Regions from separate parts of the Homo sapiens genome. Here region 1 is linked to region 2. Evidence: promoter capture Hi-C in human tissues and cell types (Jung and others, 2019). All regions are on one chromosome and are shown on one strand. Each heading gives the region's core, a stretch centred on a gene start or on the middle of the fragment in contact. The rest is flanking DNA. Distances are from core to core; before and after follow the strand shown.

The links. Contacts are between HindIII fragments. The study calls those that stand out against the background at their distance.
Region 1: a fragment that was not itself captured here is called in contact with the fragment with the promoter of NTN4 in region 2 in 1 of the 25 tissues and cell types used here (hippocampus).

What each region holds. Positions count from the first base shown.
Region 1 is chr12:95,458,014-95,462,983 of GRCh38, forward strand. No RefSeq gene overlaps it. Among named protein-coding and RNA genes, the nearest start is that of METAP2, 14 kb to the right of the region's middle. The HindIII fragment of the contact is 3,060 bases long and covers 1,478-4,537 here.
Region 2 is chr12:95,786,937-95,792,488 of GRCh38, forward strand. It overlaps NTN4 (netrin 4), which reads right to left and starts at 3,828. Exons shown (of 10, transcript NM_021229.4): 1 at 3,319-3,828; 2 at 3-532. The coding sequence starts at 3,373. The HindIII fragment of the contact is 9,266 bases long and covers 1-5,552 here.

The sequences.
Region 1 (4,970 bases), core at 1,758-4,257, 330 kb before region 2:
GGTTGCTGCTGCTGGCTGGGGTGGCCAGCTTTTATTCCTTTATTTGTCACCTCCCATGTTCCATTTCTGTCCTATCAGAGTGCCCTTTTTTCAATCCTCCTCGTGATTGGCTACTTTTAGACTCCTGTTGATTGGTGCATTTTACAGAGCGCTGATTGGTGCATTTTACAGAGCACTGATTGGTGCGTTTTACAGAACGTTGATTGGTGCATTTTACAGAGTGCTGATTGGTGCATTTTACAAACCTCTTGTAATACAGGAAAGTTCCCCAAGTCCCCACTCGACCCAGGAAGTCCAGCTGGCCTCACCTCTCACCAGGACCTTATTAAAATGATACTAAAGGAATTTTTTTTTAAATCAATCCACAACACATAAGACAGGAGCAGGGCTTCTGGGGATGAGAGTTATAAAAGTTCTGACTGAAATTTGATGAAGGAGAGAAAAGTCATGAAATAGTGTGGAGGAAGCACAGCCAAGAAGTCAGTAGAATAAGATGCTTTGAAAAGGGACCCAATTAGCCCTGCAAAACCTCTGAGAAATTCAGGACTTGGAAACACTAAGCAGGCCAGAGAGTGGGACCTGGGGCTTAAAAAGGAAGAATTAACTTAAAGTTTATATCAAGAATTAAGTCAGCAAGTCTACTCTTACAAGCATAATGTCTGCAGTTTAGGTGTTTCTCCATCTTCTAGGAAAAAATACAACAACAGCAACAAAGCTAAAAAAAATAGAGTGTTCTCTTCTAAGAAATTTAACAAATAATCTGGAAGCATTATGGAAATTAGAAAGGAAGTTCACATTTAAGCACCAAGTCCTGTGTATTCTGGAGTTTGCATCACTTAGGATGACTTTATTTATAGGTATCAGAAATCTCTAATTCTAAAAATGTGGAGATGTGATATCTTACATGTTTGAATGTAGAGTGACTAGGATTTCCCAATTCAATGGCTGAATGACACCATCAAGGGCCCAGCATCATTCCACCTCTCTGTCCTGTGCTCTTCATATCCCCAGGGATTATTCATAGACTTGAAAACATCTAAAGAAGAAAAGAAACGATATTTTGGTCTCTTTTTTTAATTTGAAGCACTTTTTCCAGAAGTTCCCAACGGTTTTACCTCCATGTTTTTGTTTTTGTTTTTGTTTTTTGAGACAGGGTGTCTCGCTTTGTCACCCAGGCTGGAGTGCAGTGGTGCAATCTTGGCTCACTGTAACCTCTACCTCCTGAGTGCAAGTGATCATCCCATCTCAGCCTCCTGAGTAGCTGGGATTACAGGTTTGTGCCACTACCCAGCTAATTTTTAAAGTATTTTTTGCAGAGCCTGGGTCTCGCTATATTGCCCAGGCTGGTCTTGAATGCCTGAGCTCAAGAGATCCTCCCACCTCAGCCTCCCAAAGCACTGGGTTTACAGGTGTGAGCCACCATGCCTGGCCCTCCATGTTTCATTGACCAAAATTGCAACACAAGCCGATGCCTAAACAAACCACTGGCAAGAGGAATTGGAATTCTCATGTATTAGTTTAGCCAAATCAGGATTTACCCTTGAGTTAAGGACAGGTTCACCTAGCTAGGCAGAAAAGCGTGGACACCTGAACCCAAAGAAGGATTATGTTAGCAAGGGAAAAACTAAAAATGAATTCTGGGTAAGCATCCAACAATGTCTGTTTTCCAAAGTACATGGTCTGCTTTTCATCCATTCACACTAAAGCAAACCTCCTAATTGACAAAGCTCTACCTAAAAATACTGAGTTCCCAGTCAGTTTTTCTACTGCATCATTTAAAAACAAAAAACTGGGCTGGGTGTAGTGACTCATGCTTGTAATCCCAGCACTTTGGGAGGCTGAAGCAGGGGTGGATCACTTGAGGTCAGGAGTTTGAGACCAGCCTGGCCAAGATGATGAAACCCCGTCTTTACTAAACATAGAAAAATTAGCCAGGAATGGTGGTGGGCACCTGTAGTCCCAGCTACTCGGGAGGCTGAGGTGGGAGAAACACTTGAACCCGGGAGGCAGAGGTTGAAGTGAGCTGAGATCGTGCCACTGCACTGCAGCCTGGGTGACAGAGTGAGGCTTCATCTCACTAAATAAATAAATAAATAAATATAAATAAAAACTGGCAAGCAAAGCCCACCAGATGTTGACAGAAAGCCTGCAATGTGGAAGTGCTTCCACTTTCAGCCTTGATGTAGGAAAAGGACTGATACTGGACAAGACTTCCCATTATACGCAGCTGTCAAAGTTGGAAAAAGAAATAAGTCCTTTTAGACATCCACCAATAGGAAACACAGAACTGTGATACCAGATGACAGGGAAATGATGCAAGATTCACAATCACCCTGGCTCTTTGTGTGGAAACACTGTCTTGTGTGGTGGTATCTCTGAGCTGAGGAGACATATCAGAGAGAAAGAAGCTGCACAGAAAAGAAACTCCAGGCCAGGTGAAGTGGCTCACACCTGTAATCCCAGAACTTTGGCAGGTCAAGGTAGGCACATTGCTTGAGGTCAGGAGTTCAAGACCAACCTGACCAACATAGTGAAATCCCATCTCTACTAAAAATAGGAAAATAAGCCAGGTGTGGTAGCATGCACCTGTAATCCCAGCTACTCAGGAGGCTAAGGCGGAGAATTGCTTGAACCTGGGAGGTGGAGGTTGCAGTGAGCTGAGATCACACCACTGTACTCCAGCCTGGGTGACAGAGTGAGACTCCGTCTCAAAAAAAAAAAAAAAAAAAGTAGCCGATTGCAGTGGCATGCGCCTGTAATCCCAGCTACTCAGGAGGCTGAGGTGGGAAGATTGCTTGAGCCCAGGAGGCTGAGGCTGCAGTGAGTCAAGATTGTGCCACTGCACTACAGTGACAGAGTGAGTGATAGAGTGAGATTCTGTCTCAAAAAAAAAAAAAAAAAAAAAATAGAGAGAAGGAACTCCAGAAATCTGCTCGGGGAAAGACTCCATGAGTCTAGGCAAAGTATTTCATCTAGCTCTAAGCTTTCTTTCATGAACACTTGATATTAAATCCTACACAGCCCTGGCCAATAAGCACTTGAAAATTTGCATGAGGGCTGGGTGTGGTGGCTCATGCCTGTAATCCCAGCAACTTGTGAGGCAGAGGCTGGAGGATCACTTGAAGTCAGCAGTTAGAGACTAGCCTGGCTAACATGGTGAAACCCTGTCTCTACTAAAAATACTAAAATTAACTGGGTGTGGTGGCACATGCCTGTGCTACTAGCTACTTGGGAGGCTGAGGCATGGGATCACTTTAAACCTAGAGGTGGAGGCTGCAGTGAGCCAAGATCGTGCCACTGCACTTCAGCCTGGGTAACAGAGCAAGAGCTTGTCTCAGAAAAAAAAAAAAAGAAAAAGAAAAAAAAGAAAACTTTCATGTGGGTAACGATACTCCTGACATCTTGGGCATAAGAATATTGCTTTGGGCTGGGCGCGGTGACTCACGCCTGTAATTCCAGCACTTTGGGAGGCCAAGGTGGGTGGATCACCTGAGGTCAGGAGTTTGAGACAAGCCTGGCCAACATGGTGAAACCCCGCCTCTACTAAAAAAAAAAAAAAAAAAAAAAGAATACTGCTTTGAACCATATATGTTTTCCCCAAAGCGTAAGCCTCAATACGTGGACACCACAGAAGGTAAATTTCTACTATTAGGTATCTAACTTTATTCCAACTACAAAAGGAGATAAATTATAAGATTAATAAGTAATTTAGTTCCACTTCTGTCACCTTGAATGGAAAAGAAAAAAAAGTAAGTAATTTAGGATGTTATTGGATACAACTATGATTGAGAAAGAATGTGTATTTCAAGGAAGTAAAAGAAGACAAGCTTTTTATTTTATTATTATTATTATTTGACACGGAGTCTTGCTCTGTTGCCCAGGCTGGAGTGCAATGGCACGATCTCAGCTCACTGCAAACTTCACCTCTGGGGTTCAAGCAAATCTCCTGTCTCAGCCTCCCGAGAAGCTGGGATTACAGGTGCCCACCACCACACCCACCTATTTTTTGTATTTTTAGTAGAGACGGGGGTTTCACCATGTTGGCCAGGCTGGTCTTGAACTCCTGACCTCAGGTGATCCATCTGCCTCGGCCTCTCAAAGTGCTGGGATTAAGGTGTAAGCCACTGTGCCCGGCCTAGGAAGACAAGTTTTTTAAAGGAAAAATGAGGAGGATCACTGGCTAAAAGGATCAATAACGAGGGTGGAGCCAGTCAGAGTATGGACAAGCAGTTGCTGGGCAGGTGTCCTCACAGAAATGTTTTGTTTTGTTTAGTTTTGCAAGATTGCTATGGCCTTTGTGCAAGGCTGTCATTTTTGCAGTCTTTTACCGTAATTCTTGTTATCAGACTTTGGGCATGAGAATCCTCCCTTCATGGCTTTCTGAGGCTCTATTTTTCAGGGTTTTGTTGTTTGGCTTTTTTTTTTTTTGAGACAGAGTCTTACTTTGTCCCCAAGGCTGAAGTGCAGTGGCACGATCATAGCTCATTGTAGCTTTCACTTCCTAGGCTCAAACCATCCTCCTCAGCCTCCCAAGTAGCTGAGACTACAGGCATGGGCCACCATGCCAGCTAATTTTTGTATGTTTTGTACAGATAGGGTTTCACCATGCTACCTAGGCTGGTCTTGAACTCCTGGACTCTCCTGGACTCAAATGTTATGCCAGCCTTGGCCTCCCAAAGTGCTGGGATTACAGATGTGCACCACTATCCCCGGCCTTGTAAGGGTTTTTAACACAAGTGACTCCATTATGATTCTGACAACTTTCACACTTTGTCCCTTGAGTTGGTGTCCAGGAAAGTACATCACAATCTCTCCTACGTAGCCTGTTTTGATGCCCCCTAACAAAATTGCTCTATCTGAAGTCAACAGTCTATTGTGAGACTTTGTACTACTTGATCTTTCTACAACAGCTGACATAGGTGATCAAACTATTTCATGAAACATTTTCTCTCCTTACCTTCATGTGATTT
Region 2 (5,552 bases), core at 2,578-5,077:
ACCTCTCCTCCAGTGCATGGAAAAGGACTGGAGTATTTAGAAGTACAAATAGCGCCCTTCTTGACAACATCATCTTCCAGGCCAAATGTAGCGGAGCAGTTAGTCGCAAAGTACTTATAAGGCTTCCATGTTTTCCCAAAGTCCTGGGAGCGGTCCAGCACCATGGCAGCCGGCCTGGGGGACTTGAACATCACAATTAGGTGAGTGAAGTAGAATTCAGCTTCCAGGTCTAACTGGATCTTTTCTCTGTGCACATCCTCCGCAGACTGCCACCATGTGCGAGGAAACCGGAAGGATGAGTCTGCCATGGCAGATGGCAGGTGAGCCAGGTGAGGATAGGCAGCATTGCACTTGTCACATTTGGGCTGCCGACAAGTCAGATCCGTGTTCTCACTGTAGAAGCAGTACAGTTCGGTAGCATTCTGACCGCAGGTGGTGTCTGCCCAGAGTTTTCGCCCCAAAGCCAAATTTCCCATCCGAGGGTTGCAGGCTTTTTCACAGCGGGAACTCACTCCAGCTACTCCACTCAGTCCTAAGAAAGGGAAAGCATGCATGATGCAAGACAAACCCATCTGGAAAGCTCTTTTGGCCACCTAGTCCATCAACAACAGTCAAGGATCTCCCCAAAAGCGCTTGAGACTTTCGATAAATGGCAAATTCTACCATGCTCCACCATGTTCCTGTTTGAGCATGAACACTGTTCTGCATTCACAATGCATTCGTGTATGCGTGTGTGTGTGCGTGTGTGTGTGTATTTGCTTTTCATGTTCAGATGTAAAATTCACATCACAGAAACAAACACTTTAGGCAGAGGGCAAGAGGAGGGAAAATAGAACCACCAGGGTGAAGATTATTGGCCTAAAACTTTTCAAGTACTTTGCCTTATAAATGTTTTCTGTATTTCAAATACATTGATGTGTTTTTGAAGTCATGACTATTGAAAAACCATAATGTTTTTAAGACCACCTAAGTTAGTCTTTCAAATTTAATGTGAGTCCTTCACATGATTTAACATGTTTATTATGAGAATGTATTTAGAAGGAAATGTGGAATTCTATTTTCTTTATATTTTTAAGCCAGGGAAGGGATAAATTCCCTAGGAAAAGCAATATGAGATATTTAATAAATATACAATGGGTCCTCATTTAGAGGGAGGCAAAGCTAGAGACCTTTGGAGTTCAGATGTGCACTATCAGTTTCTAACATTACATAAACATAACTAAGAAAAAAACTCTCTGAACTGCCAAATGGCAGAAAAGCTTATTTTACATGCTGTCTCTTCAGGGTTTCTACCTGTGACAGGTTATAGAGTAGTTAACTGTTTGCTTAACAGGAGAGTGTCTACAGTCTGGCAGCCACTAACAGCACCTTTAAATATTATCTGTGAACTACAAGACCTTCTTTAAAAAACACACTTTTCCTCCCAAAGGTCCAACAGACTTTAATGTTTTAAAATGACTTAAAATGATAAACATTATCCACTTATTAACATTCTGAGTACATACTATAATCCTTTGATTTGCGTTTGTCATTTTAATTGTGAATACCTTAAGCAAAAATCATCTATTTTAAAGGTTAAAACAGAGGGGGAAAGAGGGAAAAGGAAATCAACCCTTAAATTCTGGCTAATTGAATGTTTCTGCTGCTTAAGAAGCAGTACCTCTGAACTGTTGTCATAGTAAGGATTGGAGGAGGCCAAATGACAGCTTAGGCTGCAACAGAGACATTTCACACACTGACAATGGCCAACCCCACGAAGCCTTGCAACTAAAGGGCTTCCTTAGGCATTATTTTTTAAATGTCAAATTAAAGTGTGCATTATGCCTGGGTTCTGTTTGCCACTTTTCTCATTAGCTGGGGCAACAGTTGCTTGTGGCCAGAAGCACACAAACACACAATGTGCTATGACTCACCTGTAAAAAATTTCAAGGAAAATCATATACTGCCTGTACAAGTATTTTTGACTTGAAACACTTGCCTTGTGATGTTTATTTACAACCTTTCAATGGCTTGCATGTTTTTGCCATAATATGGTTTGAGAAGGAAAAGGTTTTTTTTAAAGCTCATATTTTAAGAGTGCAAGAATTAAAGTAAAATCTTAGGCCTTTAATAGGTCCCTGGGAAAAATATCCAATAATTTTAAATGCCCCTAAACTCCTAAGTCCAGAAAAGATTTGAGCCAGATAAAGAATCCATGGGGCAAAATACTTGGAGTCACTCAAGGGACTATTCAATGATACTAAGGATGCTCCTGTGACTTGGACTGGTTTGGGATGCAGACTGGAAAGCCTGGATTTTGCTGGGTGCCAGCGGCCCTCAGGGAAGAGTGGAAGCCCAAGGGAGGAGATGCGTGCTACAATGTTCTGTAGCCACCAGCGCATCCCTCTAGCCCAGGCGCCCCTTTCTGAAGCAGTCAAGATCCGCACGAGAGACTGGATGTCTGCAGACTCCCTCACATCTCTCCCCCTCACCTACAGGGCTGCGCTTACGCCTAACTGGAAACCAGGTGACCCGCAAGAGGGAGGGAGAGGAGCAGAAGGGGCTCCCGAATACAGAAACCACGAGCCAGGAGCCGGTGGCCTAGGGCAGCCCAAGAAAGCCAGGATGGGAGTGGGAGGGAGAGGGCATCTGCCGACGCCGACGCCGGTTGTCCAGTTACCGAGCCAGGGAGCAGACCCGCCTCCGACCTCCCGCAGAGTCTCTGCCAGGGTACCAATTCCCCAGGGGCGGCCAGCCAGCTCAATGCAAGCCCGGGGTGATCACCACCTATCGTCCAAGCCAGGAGTCCCACTGCGTTCCAGTCACTGCTCCGGGGAGAGGGCGCTCAGCCCTGCCCCAGGTGTCCTTACCTGGTTCTCTAGTACCCAGCACCAGGTCAGGGACACCAGCGATGGGCTTCTACCAGAGACCGGCCCCAGCCCACGCGCGCCCAGGGTCGCTGGGCCACCCCTCCTCATCATTCCTTAGGCCATGAAGTGCCGGGGGATGGCGAGCTGGGTCCTTTGTTCCCTCACCAAGTGGAAAAGCAGTTTTTTAACAAGCCAAACCAAGAAAGAAACCCCGGTCGCAGTATCCCCGGCAGGGCGCACCCAGGATAGCTGGTTATCCAAGCGCATGTGTATCCCAGTTGTAAAAATAAATCAATAGTATTTGAAACTGCGGAGCCCCGGGGAAAGGAGGCGGAACATGGCCACTCATTTCACCCTCGGGAGCAGCGCTCTGCGCTCGCAGCCCTGGCTCCCCTGCACCCCCGAGTCCCGAGATGGGTTAGAGAAGCAGCGAGGGAAGGGGTGGGGGCCCCGCCGCGTCACCACCCACCTGCGGCCACCACCGTGCAGCCCCAGAGCAGCAGCAGCCGCGCGCAGCTCCCCATGGCCGGGAGGAGCCGGGAGCAGCCGGGCCGGGCGGGTGCCGGAGGGAGCCGAGACCTCTGGGCTGCGGGATGAAGCGCCGCCGTCCTCGGGAGGGAACGGGGCCCTGGTTTCTTCCTCCTCCTGGGGCGCCGGGCTCGGTCAGCGGTCGCCGGCAGCTGGGAGCCAGGGGCCGGGACCGCGCGGGGAGGTGGGGTGACCCTCGCGCACCGGCCTGGCGGGTCCCGGGCACCTGGGGGGCGGCGGGAGCCCCGGGACCATAGCCGGCCTGGCTGCGCTGCCCCGCGGAGCGGCCCTGCGGGCTCGTCTGCCGCTAGCCCGGGGCTCGGCGCCCGCAGCCGCCGCTGAACTTTGCGAGACCTTTCACTTCCCGGCCGCCGCCGCCGCCTCCTCCTGGGCGTCCTCCTCCGCTTTTCCCACCTCTTCTGGCTGCCCCGGCTCCGTCCCGTCCTTCTCCACGGGCAGTTCCATGCGATGCATTTTTATTGCACCGACGCCGCGGCGCTCCGGTGCCAGCCCTCCTCCCCTCGCACCTCCACCCCTTCCTCCCGCCCGCCCCCCGCGCTTGACAGCCCGGGCGGCGCAGCCCGCGGGATCGGATCGCCGCTGCCGCTGCCGCCCGGGGGGGGGGTCCCCCGCGCCCCGACCGACGCCCCCGACGCCCGGCTGCCCGCTGGTCCCGGTCGCCTCAGCCTGGCCCCCGGCTGCCCTGGCGCCCCTCCTGGCCCGCGCCCTGCATCTCCCTAGTGACCCCCCTGGTGCCCTGCAGCACCCACAGGCCTCCCCTGGGAAGCAATCTCCCACCTTCTCCCGGAACATTCCTAAGAGCAGTAGACTCCCTCTAGATCAGGTCAGGGCATGCCAAGGGGCTTAAAAAACCGCGAAACAGGCTAGCGCCTACTTCCCACATCCCCCAGCGAAACAAGCCCTCCCTCCTCCTCCAGCCACCCCCTCTCGGGGAGTCCCACGACCCGGGGACGGAACACCCCAACCCAGCCCCGCGTCACCCGCACTGAGAGCGCGCCAACTGCTAAGCGGCGTTCGCCGCTTCTCTGCTGCCTTTTGCGGGGGTAGGGGGATGTCTCGGCTAAACAATCGCTGCCTACATGATCCGAAGGTGTGCCCACTTTGGTGTAAGAGGTATTGCCTAACTCAAACTCAAGGTGCTGAAAGAAAAGGGTCACAGGATTAGCTAGTCGGCAGTGTAAGAACATCGTTGTCCAGAGGCAGGGCAAGGGCACGACAAAGGGAACTCTTCGGTCCTTCCAAGCGTTCTCCCTTTATAGAGTATGCCGTGCTGTGAAACAGTGTTAGGAACTAACTTATGGGGAGCAATTTAGTAGCAACCACACGCAGCTAATTGCAGATAGGATTGCTCAGGGCTGGTGCTTCTGGAAAGAGATTAAATAGCAGCCGAGTCTGAGATTTTTGCAAGTTCTGTGAAAATATAATTCTACTTACACATCCAGGGAAACTGGCAAAAGTTAAGTCGACAGCAATTTTGTATTGCAGTGCTCATTTTGTTCCTTTGAATATTTTCCAGAAAATTAACTACGTTCCAGATACCATTTAGTCGTTGTGTCTGTTACAGATGAGGATAATTCAGAGCTTTGGGATACATGTAGATATTATTTACAATGACCCAGCCAGGAACATATAAGAAGTTTATATCTCCCAGGGGGATCTGGGTTGAGGTCAGCATAATCCATTTGGGCGACATTAAAATTATTCTTCTGGCCAACAGAGGAAAGTAGCAGAAGGTGTGGACAGCAATTCATGTAGCATCACCTGCTTTAGAAAATAAACGCTTTGAGTTCCCAAATACTGGCAATGGTGGGGCTTTCTTCATATCTCCTAATGGAGCCATTGAAACACCTCTCCAATTAATCTTTTTACCAAATAAATGATAGGAAACTATAACAGCCAAAGGTTCTTAGCATAAATGTTAACTTAATAGCCAAGGCAAATTAAACAAAGGGGTGGATGCACATTTATTATTAACTTCTGAGTCTAGTATATTTAGGCAGAACTAATCCATTTCTGTTTTTTAATTAACAAATAAACTTGTATGTATTTATCATGTACAACATGATGTTTTGAAATATGTATACAGCGTGGAATGACTAAATCTAGCCAATGAACATATGCATTTTTGCATATTAACATGCATTTAAGAATACA